Linked DNA regions of Homo sapiens: all the other regions are linked to region 3. Evidence: promoter capture Hi-C in 16 types of primary human blood cells and fetal thymus (Javierre and others, 2016). All regions are on one chromosome and are shown on one strand. Each heading gives the region's core, a stretch centred on a gene start or on the middle of the fragment in contact. The rest is flanking DNA. Distances are from core to core; before and after follow the strand shown.

Region 1 (2,897 bases), core at 160-2,659, 230 kb after region 3:
GTCACAGACTTTTCAGTCTCTCCACGCCAACCTCTCATATGTTTGTTTTTCTTTAAGTTGGATTCACCCAACCCCCACCCCAGGGAAAGAGTAGGCTCCCTAAATCCCAGGCTTGCAGCTGGCATTTCAGCGTGGTCATTACTACATCTGCACCATCAGCACAGAGGCACAGGTGCTGCCTTGCATAAACCAAAGATTGATTTGCAGGTTATCCATGAGGAGCTTTCCAGTCATAACATTTTTCTCCAATCAAGATTCCAGTATCCTTTATGCAAGTACACAGGCAGTAGGGGAGGGAAAATATCTACTGTCTTTTCAGCTTAAGTTTGCTTCCCCAATCATCACATCTCGAATTACTTCGCAAGACATTCTCCAAGGAATAGCACAATAGCAGTACTTTTCAGAACTGATGCCAGGGAGGGGAGGAATGTTTATGCTTGTAGTAAGTCCCAGCTGGTAGATGAAGGGCCTTTTCCCCACTCTTCAGAGTGGAATTCTCTGGTATCTCCTACCCCTTACTCACTTCCCACCAAGGAAAGGAATCATCGGTGAGTGGGAGTTCACACTCACTATGTCACCATTACTGGTGGGCGGCATCACTGTGGTAAAGACCATCTCTTCCATTACTGCTCCCACATGGTAAGCACCACTGGGCAGTTCCTCCTCTGTGGGAAGAGCTGCTGTTCTTGTTCTACCTACAACTGGGGTGGGTGAGGTAGGCCCATAGTCCTGGTGTGTAGGTGGTCAGATAAGTGACTTTATGTCTGCTCTGCAGGCCAAGCTGCTCACATGCCCACTCGCTCGTCTGGCTGAGCATGTGGGTCTAATGACTCAGATGTGGTCTCTGTGGTAGAAGCATGCACTTCAGCATCTGGCTCTCCAATCCAGCTTTTAGCAGAATTTGCTTTGAATATCAGGGACTTGATACTGAGGACAAGTGTTACTTTCTTCTCTTGCTATTATTCCTTATGTGTTCTTCCCATTGGTCAGAAGCAGAAAGGGAAGAAGAGATGAATAGCAACCTGAACATTTAACAACTGAGAGCTCTTGCAAACCAGGCTCTGAAAATATTCTCTATCAACATTAGAATGGCACCAAGTCAAGGGCACATGAGGAAACCCCTCCCAACTGCAGGATGAGATGTCTGAAATACCTGACGTAGAGCATATTAAGAGAACAATTATCTGTGTCCAGCTTTATCATCTATAATATATGTTTTATACACTCATCAAGCAAAGATGCTTTAGTTTGCTGAACCCAGTGAATCACAGAGACTTTTGCAAATGTGAAGAAATAGTATGTAGCTGCAGGATACTGCAGGCTCCTTTGCTAACTGGAAGATTAGTTGCTGTATTTTGCAAAACCCCAAACTTCAACCCAACCCATTCTCTCTTAACCAAGATAAACTGCCGTCAACCCAGCATCTTCCTCTTCCATTCCCTACCCATTTCTATTTAGAGAAGAAAGAACTGAAAACTGATATTAATATATTGCTGTATGAGTGTTTTGGAATAAGAGAGGAGGAAATAGGCCTACTCCCCTTCTCTCTTCCCTCTCCTGAATCTAAAGCCAACCTGATGCAATAGGGAAGAGTGGTGGGAGCAGAAAGAAGCTGAACCTCGGTGGGGAAGTGCAATTGTGATTTCCTCTAATAGGTAAGTTTTTGGCATAATCTGTGCACAAAATAAGGCCTTAGACTGTAAGAGAATAATTACTTTTTCTAATAAAAGCCATTGTTCTTTTGCTGCAATCAACTTTCAAGTTCTCTAAACATTTGTGATATTAATTCTATCAAGCTCTAATCCTTTGGCCATCACTCGTCTTCTTGTTCTTAAGAAGAACCTCTACTTATCCTTTGCCATGATGGGTTAAATATAAAATAAGATATAATAAAGTAAATGAAAAGCAAGGAAAACTATTAGGTTTGTACTTGTGTACCAACTCTGAGAGATGATTGGAGATGACTGAAGCACTGTGTTGGGAAGGATTCTGAGGCCAGATCTGTACTCAGAGGAAAGGTACTAATATTAGAGCGGTCCATGGGCATGAGCAATGCACACATTGTCCATCCTTGAAAGATTTAGAGTCTTACTCTTGAGTCCAAAAGGCCAGTTCACAAGGACATCAGTATGGAAGGTTGGTGTTGCAATAATACATATGAAGATTTGGAGTTTGGACCAACTACAGGCTCAATATGAGCCAGCAACATGAGAGCATTGCCAGAGATGGCAGCATGGGTGGAGGCATGTTGTCCAAGGCTAGGGAAGCACGATCTGCCCTGTACTGGCAGGATTGTGGCAGGAGTGTTGGGTTTCATTCTAGATGCATGCTTGGAGAGAACTGTTAGTCAACAGCTAGAGAGCAGTGCACTCGATAAAGGGCTTTTGAATCTATGTTTCATGGAGAAAAACAAGGATGTTCAAACTGAAGAGAAAACTTTCAGGGAATCCAGATACCCACCCTTCTTGGTAATACCTGTTGCCCCCAAGGTGAGCTTCCCAGATTCTTAGCAACCACTAACTTATCTAATGAGGTAACCCACAGAAGCTCTCCAGTGCATTTACCTGCCTGCCACTATCCTGGTGGGCCTGCTGCACCCAGATGTCAAGCTGGTAGGCTGGGATCAATTAGCAATTGTAATTAAAACTGAATGTAATTAACCACATAACAGTGAGATGTTCTTGATTAATTTCCTGAAGTTAAGAGACTACTATAATGTTCTGACAGAAGACAATAAATAATTCAAAAACTCCTAAATTTGGTTATGCATTTGAGTTTCATCCAAATAATTGTTCACCAAGCCATTGTTACTGAATAAAAATGCATTGGCCCACACACATAGGTTAACAATCTTAATTAATGATCTTGTGGCCCACTACCAAAAGGCTTGAATGCCC
Region 2 (3,061 bases), core at 472-2,971, 170 kb after region 3:
AAATCAATAACACTGAAAATAGGAAATCAATAGAGAATGTCAACAAAACCAAAAGCTGTTTCCTTGAAAAGATAAAAATTAATAAGCCTCTAGCCTGGCTAACTAAGAAAAAAAGAGATGACACAAATTACTAATATCAAAAATGATTTCTGCTGCCTTGTAACTTCTAAAATTTAACAGACTGGGCTCTTGTCATCAGGCCAGCAGAAAGAACTGTAGAAATGTAAGGATTTCCATTGTCAATTTGATGTATATAGACCTCTCTTCATTTTTGTTGCTTGTGAATTTTGTCCCTGGAGATTTGCTGACTTGACATGAGATAATTATGATATTTACATAACCCTGTTTTTATCATGCAGTTCAAGTTTTATAATTGCCCTTTTAAATATTATGCCTACTGAATCTGTTTCTTTCTGACAGAGCGTACCAAGTGTTCTAATGTAAATTTGTTAATTACTTCTTATGTTCCTTCAGATTTAATGCATTAAATTTCTTGGCTGTATTGTACTTCCAAAAAAAAAAAAAAGAAAGAAAAGAAAAAAAGGAAGACAGGACATCAGTACAGATCCCATGGACATTGAAACAATAATAAAGGAATATTATGAACAACTCTATGCCCACAAATTTAATAACCTAGATGAAATAGGCTAATTTTTTAAAAGACACAATCTGCCAAAACTCAAACAAGAAGAAACAGACAATCTGAATAGGCCTATATCTATTAAAGGAATTGAATCAATTTTAATAACCTTCCAAAACAAAAAGCACAAGGCCCAGATGGGTTCATTGGTGAATTCCTCCAAACATTTAAGGAAGAAATTATACTAATTCTCTACAATCTCTTTCAGAAGACAGAAGAAGAGGGACTATTTCCTAACTCATTGTATTAATATAAGGCCAGCATTACCCTAATTGCAAAATCTAAAAAAGACTTTAGAAGAAAACTATAGATCAATATCTCTCATGAACATGGATGCAATCCTCAAGAAAATTTTAGCAAATCAAATCCAACAAGTATAAAAAGAATTACATATTACAACCAAGTGGCATTTATCCTAGGTATGCAAGGCTAGTGCAATGTTTGAGAATTAAATAATGTAATCCATCATATATGATATCAACAGGCTAAAGGAGAAAAATCACATATCATATCAACAGGTGCAAAAAAAATCTGACAAAATCCAACATCTATTCATGATAAAAAGTCACAGGAAATAGCAATAGAGGATAACTTCCTCAACTTGATAAAGAACATTTACAAAAAACCTATGGCTAACATCATACTTAATGGTAACAAACTAAAAGCTTTCCCACAAAAATCAGGAACAAGGCAATGATGTTCCCTCTCACCACTTCTTTTCAACATAAAACTAGACAACCTAGCTAACGCAATAAGACAAGAAAACAAAAGTATACACATTGGGAAGGAAGAAATACAACTGTCTTTGTGCACATGACTTAGACATTATTGTCTACATAGACATTCTGAAATAATTGATTTTTAAAACTCCTTCAACTAATAAACAATTATAGCAAGATTGCAAGATACAAGGCTAACATACAAAAGCCAATCACTTTTCTATATACCAGCAATAAACAAGTAGAATTTGAAGTTAAAAATATAATATCTTTTGTATTAGCACCACCTCCAAAATGAAATACTTTATGTATAAACCTAACAAAATTTATACAAGATCTACATGAGGAAAACTACAAAACTCTGGTGAAAGAAATCAAAGAACTAAATAAATGTAGAGATATTCCATGTTTACGGACAGGGAGTCTCAATATTGTTAAGACGTCAGTTCTTTCCAATTTAATCTATAGATTCAGCACAATTCCAGTCAACATCTTGTGAGGTTATTTTATAGATACCAACAAACTGATTCTAAACTTCCTTTGGAGGGACAAGAGAACTAGAATAGCCAACACATTATTGAAAAAAAAGAACAAAGTTTGACGATTGACACTACCCAACTTCAAGACTTACTATAAAGCTACGGTAACCAAGACAGTGTGTTATTGACAAAAGAATAGCAAATAGATCAATGAAACAGAATAGAGAGCCCAGAAATCAACTTACATAAATATAGTCAATTGATCTTTTTTTACAAAGGAGCAAAGGCAGTACAATGGATAAAGCTTTTTAATATATGAAACAACTGGACAGCTACACATAAAATATAGACTTTACACCCTTCACAAAAAATTAACTCAAAATTCAGATCATAGGCCTAAATGTAAAGCGCGAAACTATAAAACTCCTAAAAGATAGCATAGAACATCTAAATGACCTGAGATATAGTTATGACTTTTTAGTTATAATACCAGAGGCACGATCTATGAAAGAAATAATTGATAAGCTGGAATTCATTAAAAGTAAAAACTTCTATTCTGCTGAAGACAGTATCAAGATAATTAGAATACTAGCTACAGACTGGCAGAAAATGTTTGCAAAAGACGTATCTGATAAAAAGTTGTTATCCAAAATATGCCAAGAATTCTTAAAACTCAACAGTAAGAAAATGAAGAACCAGGCCAGGCGTGGTGGCTCACGCCTGTAATCCCAGCACTTTGGGAGGCCGAGATGTGTGGATCATGAGGCCAAGAGATAAAGACCATCCTGGCCAACATGGTGAAACCACACCTCTACTAAAAATACAAAAATTAACTGGGTATGGTGGCGTGTGCCTGTAGTCCCAGCTACTTGGGAGGCTGAGGCAGGAGAATCACTTGAACATGGGAGGCAGAGGTTGCAGTGAGCCAAGATCACGCCACTACACTCCAGCCTGGGCAACAGAGCAAGACTCTGTCCCCACCCCCAAAAAAGTGAAGAACCCAATTTAAAAATCAGCAGAAGATCTGAACAGCCATATTACCAAAGAAGATAAACAGATGGGAAAAAAAAGCACAAGAAAAGATGCTCTGCTTCACATGTCATCAGAAAACTACAAATTGAAACAATGAGATACCTCTACACACCTATTAGAATGGCCAAAATCCAGAATCCTGACAACACCAATTCTGTGGAGCAATAGGAACTCTTCAATCATGGCTGGTA
Region 3 (2,877 bases), core at 182-2,681:
GAGGTTTTGTCCCTTTGTGTTTGATATCCTCCCCATCCCAGATGATAGAATCCTCCCAATGCAGCTGTGTCACCATCAGGAAGTTTTCGTCAGCCAGAAGATCAGTGCCATTGCTTTCCTCAAGTTTCCTAAATTCCTCCATCATTCTAGATTTTATCACAGGTTCATGTTGTGTCTTTCTCAGTTTGAAGCCATAGTCAAACCCACTGCCATCTTCGGAGACACCCAGCATATCATACCACAGTCGGGCAGGCCCATAACGCCACTCAGCCACTCTTGGTTTGGTATCTGTCACTTTATCTACATCTCCAGTTGATTGGGAAAATTTGGACTCCACAGGAACCATCATCGTGATTTCATCATCAGCGAGACACTGCTCTGGGGGTGGTGGTGGAGCATAGTCATAGTTCCACAAAGACTTCTGGCTGACTTCTGATTCTACTGAGCATTCCACCTCCTGGATCTGCTCTTCCTGTATCAGCTCACGATGCTTCTTCCTCTTTCTCCGAGCACTCCGCCAAACAGATGGGACATTCTTCCCTGGTCCAAAAAGATGTAGGAAGCGTAACACTTTTCCAGGTCGAAATTCTGGAAAAAGTTCGGTGACACTTGGCAACAGCTTGGTGGCATCATGCTGCATAATCCCAGCCAATGGAAGGGTCAGCTTTCCATCCTCAGATTCTGCCTGTGTTGCTTCCTGAGGTCCCATCTCAGATTCTGAATCAGAGTAACTACTGAAATCCACTTTCTCTGAGGCCAAAAAGGAAGGGGCAATGATGGAGGGCAAGATGATGTCTTCTCCACTTTCAGACACACAGGTAATAGCATCTTGGTCCTTATCCTTCTTCATTGGTCCCGGGGGTGGAGGTGGAGGAGGCATCAACTTGCAATCAATGTCTTCACAATCAGCATCATAGTCATCTTCATCATAATCCGAGTGGTAAAGGGGCTGCAAGCTCCCCATCGTCTGCTGGTGTCTTTGGCTTTCATCTTCTGCCACCTCATTGATGTCTGAATAGTCTACAGCATCTTCTGTACTCCTAATCCACCCTTCATCATTTACCAAGGCACCGCCAGTCCCAGTCAATTCTTCATTTGCCGTGAGTTCAGTGATTAGGCTGCCCAGCCCCAAAGCCCCCAAGCCTGCCAAGTGCTTCTTACACTCATCATCCAAGACGCTTTCCCCCTCCAGCTGCCCCGCTCCACTGATGTTGCCGAAAAGGATACCCGCTAAAGTAAATGGGCCACCTCCAGATGAATCTTCCTCGCTGTCCGAGTCTGACATGATGGCGGCAGTGACGGTAGCTGCTGCCCTCAGCAGCAAATCGCAGCCGGGTCGCATAAACCGGAAATAAAACAACAGTCGCCCGGAAGTGATCTACTTAGCTCCCTTACCCTACCAGCGTCTACCGGAAGCTGAATAAAGGCGGGGGGAGGGGGCAAAGGGGCGGGGGGAAAAACCCGCAAAACTTTTTTTTTTTTTTTTTTTTGAGACGGAGTCTCGCAACGTCGCCCAGGCTGGAGTGCAGTGGCGCGATCTTGGCTCACTGCAAGCTCTGCCTTCTGGGTTCACGCCATTCTCCTGCCTCAGCCTCCTGAGTAGCTGGGACTACAGGCGCTCGCCACCACGCCTGGCTAATTTTTTTTTTTTTGTATTTTCAGTAGAGACGGGGTTTCACCATGTTAGCCTCTCGATCTCCTGACCTCGTGAACCGCCTGCCTCGGCCTCCCAAAGTGCTGGGATTACAGGCGTAAGCCACCGCGCCCAGCCTGTTTGCTGGTTTTTGAGACAAAGTCTTGCTCTGTCGCCCCAGGCTGGCGTGCAGTGGCACAATCTCGGCTCACTGAAACCTCCACCTCAGGAGTTCAAGAGATTCCTGCCTCAGCCTCCACAGTAGCTGGGATTACAGGCATGAGCCACCATGCCTGGCTAATTTTTTGTATTTTTAGTGGAGACAAGATTTCACCATATTGGCCAGGCTAGTCTTAAACTCCTGACCTCAGATGGTCAGCCCGTCTCTGTCTCCGAAAGTGCTGGGATTACAGGCGTGAGCCACTGCACCCAGCCTCTGTAAATCTCTTTATACATGAACTGCATATGTATGCTTCTCCAAATAATCTATAGCATTGTCATGCTTTACAATTTTGTATAAAAGGCATCTTACTGTGTGTACTCGTTTTTTTTTTCCCCCTTCCTTTTTTTTAAGAGATGGGATCTCACTATGTTAGCCAAGCTGGTCTTAAACTCCTCCTGGCCTCAAGCAATCCTCCCACTTTGGCCTCCCAAAGTGCTGAGATTACAGGCAAGAGCCACCAAACCCGACCTTACTGTATGTACTCTTAGCCAGAATGTTTTCTGGATAAAATTTATGTTTATGATATTCAACTATGTTGATGCATTCAATTCTATTTTTATAGCTCTATAGTGTTCTACAGTATGGTTATGCTACAATTTATCTATGTTCCTATGTTTGTTCATTTAAATTGTTCCCAAATTGTTCCTCTTATAAATAATGTATATGATTCCTTGAGCATATGTAGGACACATTCTCCAGGGTATACATCTAGGAGTGGAATTACTAGATTTTACAATATATGCTTTTTCAACTACACTTGCTATTACTAAATTGTTCTCCAAAGTAGTTGTACCATTTTACATACCTAACAGCAGTGTATAAAAGTTCTCACCTCTCCACATCCATTCTAACACTTAGCATTGTCATTTGTTAATTTTTGTTCATTTCTAATAAATGTATAATGATAATGTGGTTTTAATTTGTATTTTTCTGATTGCTACTGAAGGCTAACTTTTCATACACTTATTGACCAACTGTTTTTCCTCTTCTGTCAATTGCCTTTTCATATATTTTTATCTAA
Region 4 (3,056 bases), core at 247-2,746, 200 kb after region 3:
CAATAAAGAATAAGAACTTAGATACTTAGACACTAACCTTGAACGTATGAATGATGGAATAGCTGATTGGGAGTTTAATTGAAATTCTGATGCTGAATAATATCTTCAACCTTTTCTGACACTGTTGCTTAAATGAGTGGGTAGACACTCCCTGTTCAGCACACCCCACCTATTTCTGCCTGGATGCTGAAGGTGCTGCTTCCAGACACCATTCAGCAGACACACATGTATGTGCACACACACAAACACACATACACGGTTGTCATGACAACTGAGGCATGGACATTGAGGCCATGTCTGAATGGAGCCAGTCATTCAGACACCTTGGTAAAGGTGTTCTGTTTTGGGGGTGAGGGAACTTGTTTGTCTACCCAGCAGTAGCAAAAACCCATCTTTCTACCCTGCAGACAGTGGTCCTTCCTAACTAAGTGCTCAATCCTGGGATCTCGGGATACTAAAACAAGGCATCATTATTTCTCAAAAGAGCTCTCTGGATGAGATTTACCCAACTTTTATAGGGTCTAACCCACAAGGGGTCACAGTAAAAATAACTGCCAAGCCAGTCTCACTCAGTGCATTGGTTCCAGGGAAACATTTTTTGACCTCTTGGGGACCACTTATGTTAACCCACCACTTGTTGTTTTCATTTGCAAACATTCTGAAGGTCAATTTGAATTTGATTGTTTTAGGATCTAATAATTCACTTAGTGACATATCTAAATTAAAGCCCAAATCATCAGAAAGAATAAGATACACCCAACAAAGATGCCTAATTTACAATCATGAAGAAACAGTTCAGTTCATGTCAAGAGATTTATCGAATGCCTTAGACACAAGGAAAATTATCATCAATAATAAGCATTTTCTAAGCAATTACTTTGGGTGGACACATAGGCTCAGAGAGATATAAGGCTCAGGGAAGTCTATGAATACCAGCCACATTGCAAAGCCACACAAGGCATACACCAACTAGTTAGAAAAGTGGGTGATTAGAAAAGCTTTGGGCAAAGTTTCTAGGGGTAAGTAAGACTTAAGCTGAGCCTCATGGAATGCAAAGTGCTTCTGCATTTTAGAAGTAAAGGGAGAAATATTACAGGTGAAAAAAAAACTGCATGGTATGGGACCGTTTGAGTATTACCTTGTTTGGCAGGAGATGTCCTGCAGAAGAGCAATGGGAAATAAGGCTGTGTAGTAAACAATTAACCTTACCCAAAAAGAAGTCTGGCTTTTACCCTAAGGTACTGGGAGTTGGTTCCTAGGCCCCTAGAATGCCCTGCCTGAGTCTTTGTTGCTGGGGAGCTTTGGCTACTAACAGCCTACCAATGTGATTTGTGATTGTGGCCTTAGGGCCACGCAGTGTCATTTATGACCTCTGGAGGAACAACTAAAGATATTAGCTTGATCTCCAGTCTCCAGAAGTGGCTGGAAACTCAAGGTCAGCCACTCAGGCAGGATGTGATCAGGCCCCAGTAAATCTCTGAACACCAAAGGCTGAGGTGATCTTTCATGGTTGACAACACTTTGTGTGTCTCGTTGCACATGGTGACCAGGAGGAAGCAGTGTTGTCCATGACCCGATAGGGAGAAAATGACTGGCAGCTGGCACTAGACCCCGCCTGGATTCTGCCCCATGTGTCTCCTCTCTAAGCTGAATTTAATTTGTATCCTTTTACTGTAATAAAACTACAATAAGAAGTATAGCACTTCCTTGAGTTCTGTGAGTCATTCTAGTAAATTATTGAACTTGAGGGTGGTTGTGGGAGTCCCCAGATTTGTAGCCAGCTGGTCTGAAATAAGGATGAGCCTGCGCATTACCAAATTTGCAGCTCATGTCAGAAGTGAGGGAAGTCATGTGAGGACTGTGCCCCCAAACTGTAGAGTTGTCTTAACTCATCGCAAAGGCTGAAGAAGTTAGTCATGTGGGGCATTGAATGTAAGCCTGGAGAGTCTGGATATGATGCCATAGGCAGTTATATTCTTGAGCAAGAGAACAAGACAAGCTTCATCTCATAATAGTGTAAGAGACAGGATGCTTAGAGGACTGTGTTTTGTCCAGATGTGGGAAGATGAAGATCTGAACCAGCCCTGAGGCAGAAAAGGAAAAGCTGTGTGAATAATAACACTGACTGAGCATATGCTATGCCAGGCATCCTAAGCGCTCCATGTGCTTTTAATCCTCAAAACAATCTTATATGGCAGGCGACATTCTCCTCTCCATTTTACAGACCAAAAAACTGAAGCCCAGAGAGACTAACTAATTTGCCCAAAATCATCCAGCAGGAAGTGGCACAGCTGAGATTTGAACCCAGCTGGAATCAGACTCATAACCATTATCTCACATAAGCGCTACCACATGGAAGACACCGTGGTAAAAGAATCAACAGGATTTGCTGACTGGCCGTCTGGATACAAGATGAAAAAGCCAGGAAGAGGACAGGACAACTCTAGGGTTTTCCATATTGATAAATAGAAATTGCAGATGTTCCTATAGCCCAAATTGCCTATTTCACCTTGAGCAAAAAGGACATGAGCTAAGGAGATCTAAGTCATGGGCGGTTCAAATTTGCCAACTAACAAAGGGAACCTAGCTAAGTCTTTTAACTTTCCTGGGCCTAAGGTTCCTCTTCAGTTGGAGTAAATCTCTAAATTCCCTACTGACCACAAGAAGCAAAGTAGTAAGTGATCAGTAGCATGTGCTCTTAAATCAGACAGGTCTAAGACCTGACTCTGCATTTATAAGCTACGTGACCTTGGACAAGTAACTGAGTCTTGGCATTCCCATCTGGGAAATGGGGATTATAATAATATCTGGGTTATAGAAATGTTGTGAAGATATATACCATAATCAAATAATCTATGTCAAGCCCTTAGCACAATGCCTGACATATGACTAAGTATTTGATACATGACGGTTTTATTGTTAGTTTTCATGCAATGAGATATCATAGAACTTAGCCCCAAAACCACCATTCCAGATAATTCCACTGGCCAAACTCAGAGGTGAATAATTAATTTTTTAATCATTATTAATAAAGACATGAGAAAACCTTACCATGT

Evidence for each region. Contacts are between HindIII fragments. The CHiCAGO score rates a contact against its expected background, and 5 or more counts as called.
Region 1: a contact is called between a fragment that was not itself captured here and the fragment with the promoter of TAF1L in region 3, in 1 of 17 cell types (M2 macrophages). The highest score is 5.1, in M2 macrophages.
Region 2: a contact is called between a fragment that was not itself captured here and the fragment with the promoter of TAF1L in region 3, in 1 of 17 cell types (M2 macrophages). The highest score is 6.2, in M2 macrophages.
Region 4: a fragment that was not itself captured here is called in contact with the fragment with the promoter of TAF1L in region 3 in 1 of 17 cell types (M2 macrophages); the score reaches 5.8 in M2 macrophages.

Annotation. Positions count from the first base shown.
Region 1 is chr9:32,865,740-32,868,636 of GRCh38, forward strand. No RefSeq gene overlaps it. Among named protein-coding and RNA genes, the nearest start is that of TMEM215, 84 kb to the left of the region's middle. The HindIII fragment of the contact is 3,619 bases long and covers 1-2,897 here.
Region 2 is chr9:32,807,116-32,810,176 of GRCh38, forward strand. No RefSeq gene overlaps it. Among named protein-coding and RNA genes, the nearest start is that of TMEM215, 25 kb to the left of the region's middle. The HindIII fragment of the contact is 837 bases long and covers 1,304-2,140 here.
Region 3 is chr9:32,634,238-32,637,114 of GRCh38, forward strand. It overlaps TAF1L (TATA-box binding protein associated factor 1 like), which reads right to left and starts at 1,432. Exons shown (of 1, transcript NM_153809.2): 1 at 1-1,432. The coding sequence starts at 1,342. The HindIII fragment of the contact is 7,933 bases long and covers 1-2,877 here.
Region 4 is chr9:32,837,605-32,840,660 of GRCh38, forward strand. LOC107987060 (a long non-coding RNA gene) reads right to left here. Exons shown (of 2, transcript XR_007061452.1): 2 at 2,994-3,056. Among named protein-coding and RNA genes, the nearest start is that of TMEM215, 56 kb to the left of the region's middle. The HindIII fragment of the contact is 1,001 bases long and covers 997-1,997 here.